Regions from separate parts of the Homo sapiens genome. Here region 2 is linked to region 1. The links are contacts of gene promoters, found by promoter capture Hi-C in blood cells and fetal thymus (Javierre and others, 2016). All regions are on one chromosome and are shown on one strand. Each heading gives the region's core, a stretch centred on a gene start or on the middle of the fragment in contact. The rest is flanking DNA. Distances are from core to core; before and after follow the strand shown. Region 1 overlaps GTF3C2 (general transcription factor IIIC subunit 2). Region 2 holds the start of PREB (prolactin regulatory element binding).

The links. The method cuts DNA at HindIII sites, captures the fragments that hold promoters and counts their contacts. A CHiCAGO score of 5 or more calls a contact.
Region 2: a contact is called between the fragment with the promoter of PREB here and a fragment that was not itself captured in region 1, in 1 of 17 cell types (naive B cells). The highest score is 6.0, in naive B cells.

Annotation. Positions count from the first base shown.
Region 1 is chr2:27,343,768-27,347,609 of GRCh38, forward strand. All of the region lies in intron 1 of GTF3C2 (general transcription factor IIIC subunit 2), which reads right to left. Among named protein-coding and RNA genes, the nearest start is that of GTF3C2-AS1, 10 kb to the left of the region's middle. The HindIII fragment of the contact is 1,378 bases long and covers 562-1,939 here.
Region 2 is chr2:27,132,914-27,136,755 of GRCh38, forward strand. It overlaps PREB (prolactin regulatory element binding), which reads right to left and starts at 1,723. Exons shown (of 9, transcript NM_013388.6): 1 at 1,374-1,723; 2 at 619-808; 3 at 204-424; 4 at 1-10. The coding sequence starts at 1,508. RefSeq lists a silencer at 1,442-1,541 and enhancers at 1,480-2,136, 1,612-1,661. The HindIII fragment of the contact is 5,539 bases long and covers 105-3,842 here.

The DNA of each region.
Region 1 (3,842 bases), core at 1-2,500:
AGGTGCGGTGGCTCACACCTGTAATCCCAGCACTTAGGGAGGCTGAGGCAGGAAGGCAGCTTGAGCTTAGGAGTTTGAGGCTAGCCTGGGCAACACAGCAAGACCCCTTCTCTAGCAAAATAAAATAAAATAAAAAAATTAAAAACAAAAAAGGAAACTGGTGATATGACAATAAACAAGACAGACAAGGTCCCTGCCCTCATGGAACTTACATTTTGGTGAAGCAGACAATAAACAAGTAAACAAATAAAGCTTCCATTTTTTTTTTTTTTTAAAGACGGAGTTTCACTCTCGTTGCCCAGGCTGGAGTGTAATGGGGCAATCTCAGCTCACTACAACCTCCACCTCCTGGGTTCAAGCAATTCTCCTGCCTCAGCCTCCTGAGTAGCTGGGATCAAGGTGCGCACCACCACGCCCAGCTAATTTTTGTATTTTTAATAGAGATGAGGTTTCACCATGTGGGCCAGGCTGGTCTCAAACTCCTGACTTCAGGTGATCCACCCGCCTCAACCTCCCAAAGTGCTGGGATTACAGATAATGAGTCACTGCGCCTGGCCATAAAGCTTCCATTTATTAAATGCTAACTATGTGCCAAGCACTATACTAAGTGCTATACATACATTATCTAATTTAAAGCTCATATATTTTCTTGTAAGGATGAAGCAGTGAATGCACAATTATTTAACCTCTGTCTCTGAAACCCAATGAAATAAAACACACACACACAGACATACACACACTCCAAAAAAGAAGAGAGAGAAAAATTTGTCTAGCATGAATCTAGGAAAGGGACACCAACTTCCTCAAAATATACTACAAAAAAGAGCTGCCAGATACTACAAAATTTAGACCAAAGTGAAGAGGCATACTTAATGTTAACATCTCTTTCTGTAAAGATTAGTCAAGGAATAAGTTTATTTAAGAATAAGTAAAAGGCCAGGCAGGATGGCTCATGCCTGTAATTCCAACACTTTGAGAGGCCAAGGAAGAAGGACTGCTTGAGGCCAGGAGTTCAAGACCAGTCTGGGCAACATAGGGAGACCTCATCTCTACAAAAAATTTTAAAAGTTAGCCGGGCATGGTGGTGCGCACCTGTAGTCCCAGCTACTTGGAAGGCTGAGACAGGAGGATTGCTTGAGCCTAGGAGTTCGAGGTTACAGTGAGCTATGATGGTGTTACCATACTCCAGCCTGGGTATGGTATTTTAAATAAAAACATTTAAAAATAATTTTCTGGCCAGGCACGATAGCTCATGCCTGTAATTCCAGCACTTTGAGAGGACAAGGCAGAAGGATGGCTTGAGTCCAGGAATTCAAGACCATCCTGGGCAACAGAGTGAGACTCCTTTGCTACAAAAAAACATGGTGGTGCACACCTGTAGTCTCAGCTACTTGGGAGGCTGAAGACTTGGGAGGCTCCTTGAGCCCAGGAGGTCGAGGCTGCAGTGAGCTGTAATCACACCACTGCACTCCAGCCTGGGCAACAAAGCAACACCGTCTCAAGTAAATAAATAAATGAATTTATTTTTTAAAAAGAATGAGTTGGCCAGGCACGGTGGCTCACACCTGTAATCCCAGCACTTTGAAAGGCTGAGGCAGGCGTATTGCCTGAGGTCAGGAGTTCGAGACCAGCCTGGCCAACATGGTGAAACCCCATCTCCACTAAAAATACAAAAATTAGCTGGGCATGGTGGCAGGCGCCTGTAATCCCAGCTACTCAGGAGGCGGAGGCAAGAGAATCAATTGAACCCGTGGGGTGGAGGTTGCAGCGAGCCGAGATCATGCCACCGTACTCCAGCCTGGGTGACAGAGTGAGACTCTGTCTTTAAAAAAAAGAATGAGTCAAAGAGTTCTCTGGTGCCCTGCTATCAATATTTCACCTGGATGGGGGTGGTGGGTAGACTATGGGACAATTAAGGAACATCCTATTATGTTAAGAAAGCTTTTCCTTTTTTTTTTTTTTTGAGATGGAGTTTCACTATCGTTGCCCAGGCTGGAGTGCAGTGGCGTGATGTCGGCTCACTGCAACCTCTGCCTCCCAGGTTCAAGCAATTCTCCTGCCTCGGCCTTCCGAGTAGCTGGGACAACAGGTGCCCGCCACCACACCCAGCTAAATTTTTGTATTTTTAGTAGAGATGGGGTTTCACCATGTTGACCAGGCTGGTCTTGGACTCCTGACCTCAGGTGATCTGCCCACCTTGGCCCCGCAAAGTGCTAGGATTACAGACTTGAGCCACTGTGCCCCGCCACTTTTTTTTTTTTTTTTTTTTTTGAGACACGCTCTTGTTCTATCACCCAGACTGGAGTGGTGCAGTGGTGTGATCACAGCTCACTGCAGCCTTGTCCTCCAGAGCTCAAGCAATCCTCCTGCCTCAGCCTCCCAAGTAGCTAGGACTATAGGCATGTATCACCATGCCTGGCTAATTTTTAAATTTTTTGTAGAGATGAGGTCTCACTACGTTGCCCAGGATGGTCTTGAATTCCTGGGCTCAAGCAATCTTTCCACCTCGGTCTCCCAAAATGTTGGGATTATAGGTGTTAGCCACCGTGCCCATTCTGATACCTTTTTTTTTTTTTTTTTTTTTTTTTTTTTTTTTTTTTTTGAGACAGAGTCTCATTCTGTAACCCAGGCTGGAGTGCAATGGTGCAATCACAGCTCACTGCAGCCTGGACCTCCCAGGCTCAAGTGATCCTCCCACCTCAGCCGCCTGAGTAGTTGGGACTACAGGCATGCACCACCATGCCTGACTAATTTTTGTATTTTTTGTAGAGACTAAGTTTCACCATGTTGCCCAGGCTGGAGTGCAGTGGCGTGATTACATACTCAAACTCCTGGACTCAAGCAATTCTCTCAACTTCGTCTCCCAAAATGCTGGGATTACAGGCATAAACCACTATGCCTTGCCTTTTTTAATTTTTAAAAATTAAAAAAAATTTTTTTTTTCTGAGTCAGGATCTCGCTCTGTCACCCAGACTAGAATGTGGTGGTGTGATCACAGCTCACTGCAGCCACTAACTCCTGGGTTCAAACAGTCCTCCCTCCCCAGCTTCCCAAATAGCCAAGACTTCAAATGTGCACCAATACGCCCAGATACGTTTTTAATTTTTTTGTGCAGATTGGGTCTTGCTATTTTGCCCAGGCTTGTCTTGAATTCCTAACCTCAAGAGATCCTCCCACCTTGGCCTCCCAAAGTGCTGGGATTACAGGTGTAAGCCACCATGTCTGGCCAAGAAACCTTTCCACATTGAAGAATTGACTAAATTGTCATGAGTCTTCATTTTCTTCAAACCCCAAAAAATTAGTTGTATAACCATGGGCCAAAGTAAACTAAGATAAATCACTGACCACCAAACCCGAAACCTAAGCAACACAGAACTCTCCAAGGGTCCAGTTTTTGGCCAGAATAACCTGCCTGTCTGTGACAAAGGGGCAGACATAGTTCAAATCCCAGGATGGGACCCCGCCCCCCACAGATCTATATATACGCCTTAAGAATAAACAATTCATCAGTCTCAGTGGAAAAGTGTGCTTATACAAATCCCATAAGAAATATAAAATAAAAGCTTCCAACTGTCTCACTTGAAGAAGCTACAGTCTAACCAGATTATAAACTATAGCAATGGCCAACCCTCTGAGGCAGGTGCTGAGGATACAAGAAAACACATGTGCTAAAGATACATTATAACACTGCCAAGGTAAATAAAGGTCAGTGAAAATCCATCTATATTATTCCTGTGATAAATAAGAAGCCCTGACAGAACTACCCCATTCAAAATTAGTCACAAGCCAAAAGGACCTATGCATATACCGAAAGAAAAGGATAGAAAGATGAAGAGTACCCT
Region 2 (3,842 bases), core at 473-2,972, 210 kb before region 1:
GGCTGGGCACCTGTAGCCAAACAACCACCATGGTTAACTCAGGTGTCCAGCAAGTACACTGTGACTGATGCCCACGCCACCCCTTCTAATGGCCCCTCAATGCAAGCTTCATTCACAAGTTTCCCAGATGCCACGTTCAACTTCTCACAATTTTGATCCTGTTGCTACTGACATTCACCCTCCCTAACCCTGCAAACCCACACCTTCCAGACACGGACGTAGCCATCTGTTCCTCCAGTGGCAAGCAGGGTATTATCGTGGTTGAAGCACACAACTTTCTGCAGTGGATCGGAGCTAAAGTCTGTCTGCACCGCCTGCAAATTCTCTACCCTGAGTTCTAGCCCCTCGTGCTGGGTTTCCGCTCCACATTTCTTCTCTGCTGGGGCTGCTCCCTTCCTTTGTCGAGGCCCCTGCTCCTTGGAACCTGTAACACAAACACTTGGCCAGGTTCCAGGCTTCTACAGTAAGGAGTACTGGCCCCTCTCTCCATGGCAGGTGCCCATACAACTTCTAGCTTGCTACCAAAACCCTACTTCCAGACCCACTTCTTTAGAGACACCAAGAGTGACCTTACTCGTTCAACCCTTTCCCCAAGGGGGTAGAGAGGGAGCTCCTCACCGGCCTTCTCTGCCTTGTTGCCCTGCTGTTGATGTGCCTGGAAGCGCAGGAGCTGACAGTGGGCATCCTGCCCTGCAGCAAGGATGTCACCAGCCAGTGCCAAGTTCATGGTGGCCCGTGTCTCTGTGTCATGGGAGTGCAGCAAGGAGGCACTCAAGCGCCCATTAATCAGCTCTAGCTGCAGAAAGTGCTGTGGGAGGGGGAACCCGGATGAGCAAGTTCAGGGGTGCCCAGAGAGCACGTTTAGGGAAGAGTCTGATGTCTTACCCCTTTGCTTTCTGCACGTTCTAGTTCACAAGGGTTTCTCGAGTCTTTTTTCTCTCATTTGGGCCTCACAAATCTACACAGTGAGCAGGACTGGGATTATTACCTCTATTTTACAGAACAGGGTGAAGCTCAGGAGAGGGAAGGAACTTAGCCTAAACCCAAATGCACCACTCTCGCCGCTGCTAGAGGGCAGGCAAGACCTCCCGGAAAAGGCCAGTATAAGACCCCTGGAGCTGCTCTGAGGCGGAGCTGAAGCGTTCCTGGCGACTCTGCAGCTGTGTGCAGTTTTCACTTTACCTTAAAAGCCTCTCCTCCGCCCGCTGAGTTCTCGACTGAAATTCGCCCCTGGGCGTCAGGCAAGCGGGTCTTCCCAACAGAAGTGGGCAGGGCCCGAAGCTGGAGTGTGGCCCGCCCCGCGACCCCCCGGCCACCCTGGAATCGCCGCCAGCCCGCAGCAAGACCCAGCCCCAGTGGCCCTGCGCTCTCACCACGCCATTCTTTATGCCTGTCTTGGCGGCGCCTCCTCCGCCCGCAGCGATGAGCAGCCCAGTGCTGGGGTCGACCTGAAGCGCGTACAACGGGAACGGAGCCCGGTACAGCTCTGGCGCCCGGCGCCGGCCCATCCCGCCCGGCGCGCGTTCACTGCCCGCACCGCGGCACCCAGGACATGCCGCGCCGGGCCTTCGACTACTGCCCCGGCGGCTGGTGAACTCGGCCCCGTCGCCGCCGGGAGCACTCCCTACCCCTCTCACACCGGGGAGTTGCCAAAACCCTGACCATCAGCAGGAAGCCGAGCCTCAGCTCGGCTCCGTCCAAGTCGGTCTCGCAGACGCGCACTGCGCATGCGCACCTGTCTCGCGGCTCCCTCCGCGCAGGCGCAGGAGCGCCGACACGCGTCAGCACTAGCCGGCCGCGGGGCCGCGTTTCCCGGGGCGGGGCTTCGGTTCTCCACCCCTGGCGCGGAGGCAGAGTCGCCCAGCACCGACTTCGCCATTTTTGTGCGGGGCGCGGGGCGCGGGCGGAGGAGGTGGAGCCAATGGAGGTTGATGAAGGTCAACCTTTAATAAAGAAATCCGACTCGCGCCTGTAATCCCAGCACTTTGTGAGTCCTAGGCGGGCGGATCAGGAGTTCGAGACCAGCCTGACCAACATGGAGAAACCCCGTCTCTACCAAAAATACAAAGGGCGTGGTGGCGTGCGCCTGTAATCCCAGCTACTCGGGAGCCTGAGGCAGGAGAATCACTTGAACCTGGGAAGTAGAGGTTGCAGTGAGCCGAGATCGCGCCATTGCCATTGCTCTTCAGCCTGGGCAACAAGCAACAAGAGTGAAACTCCGTCTCAAAAAAAAAAAAATCCTCTGCCAGGCACGGTGGTTCATGCCTGTAATCCTCCTGTAATCCCAACACTTTCGGAAAGTCCGAGAGAGGAGGATGGCTTGAGCCCAGGCTTTCGAGACAGCCTGGGCAACATGGGGATCCGTCCCTACGAAATATTTAAAAATTAGCCAAACATCGTGGCACCTGTGGGCCCAGGTGCCCAGGAGGCTCAGGCGGGAGGATCACTTGAGACTGGGAGGTCGAGGCTGCGCTGGACCACCAGTGATGTCACCACTGCACTCCAGCCCCTGGGCAACAGAGCTAGACCCTGTCTCTCACACACATAAAATCCTCAAATAAGGACTGTTCCCATCTGAGGAGTGATATGCCAACTCCTAGGAGCACAGGCCTTTGCATCTTACCTCAGAGAGGAAGTGATTTGCCCGAGGGCACACACCAGAAACCACCGGAGTCTCTTGCTTCTTAACGGAGGCAGCATGAACTTAAAAATAAACCTGACTTCAAATGCTGAATCCATTGCTTCCTCGTATGAGGACACGTCTGTCATCCTTAACGCCTATCGCCCACTTTTGGCAGGGGTGGTGTCTGCCATTCCCTTTCTCAAGGCTTCACACTCCTGGGCTGGTGGCTTGGTGGGTGGCCAGCTGCTTTGCTGGCCTCAGAGGGGGCAGTTTGGCTCCCGGGCAGGTATCTTCTGCGCCTGACACTCCATTCTCCCTCGGGTTTCTGATCTGATGAGGACCTTTGTGCACTCCTGAGAGCGAGCACAAGGGATGTCCTTCCCTGCAAAGAGACGCCCTCTCCTGCATTCTCATTAACCTAAGGTGCACCCAGAGGAATAGCGCAGTGGCTTCATCTTTGGGGATGCCAATATCTGTCCCACAGAGTTGAATTAGATGTGTGAAGGGCCTGGCCAAGCTCTCTGCATATCTCAAGTCCCCAGGCCTTGTGGGTCCCTTGTCCTCCTTGGATACATGGCACCTGCTCTTTCTGGCCTCTCCGTTTCCTTTGACACCACCCTCCAGGGTCTTTTTTATTTTTTGAGACGGAGTCTCGCTCTGTTGCCCAGTCTGGAGTGCAGTGGCCTGATCTCAGCTCACTGCACCCTCCACCTCCCAGGTTGAAGTGATTCTCCTGCCTCAGCCTCCTGAGTAGCTGGAACTACAGGCACCCGCCACCACACCCAGCTAATTTTTGTATTTTTAGTAGAGATGGAGTTTCACCATGTTGGCCAGGCTGGTCTCGTAACTCCTGACCTTAAATGATATGCCCACCTTGGCCTCCCAAAGTGCTGGGATTATAGGCATGAGCAACCACACCATGCCCTCTTTTTTTTTTTTTTTTTTTTGAGATAGGGTCTCTGTCACCCAGGCTGGAGTGCAATGGCATGATATAGCTCATTGCAACCTTGAACTCCTGGACTCAAGTGATCCTCCCACTTTAGCCTCTTGAGTAGCTGGTAGTACAGGCACGCGCCACCATACTCAGCTAATTTTTTTATATTTTTGTTTTTGGAGAGACAGGGTCTTGCTATGTTGCCCAGGCTGGTCTCAAACTCGTGGCTTCAAGTGATCCTCCTACCTCAGCCTTCCAGTGTGTTGGGATTATAGGCATGAACCA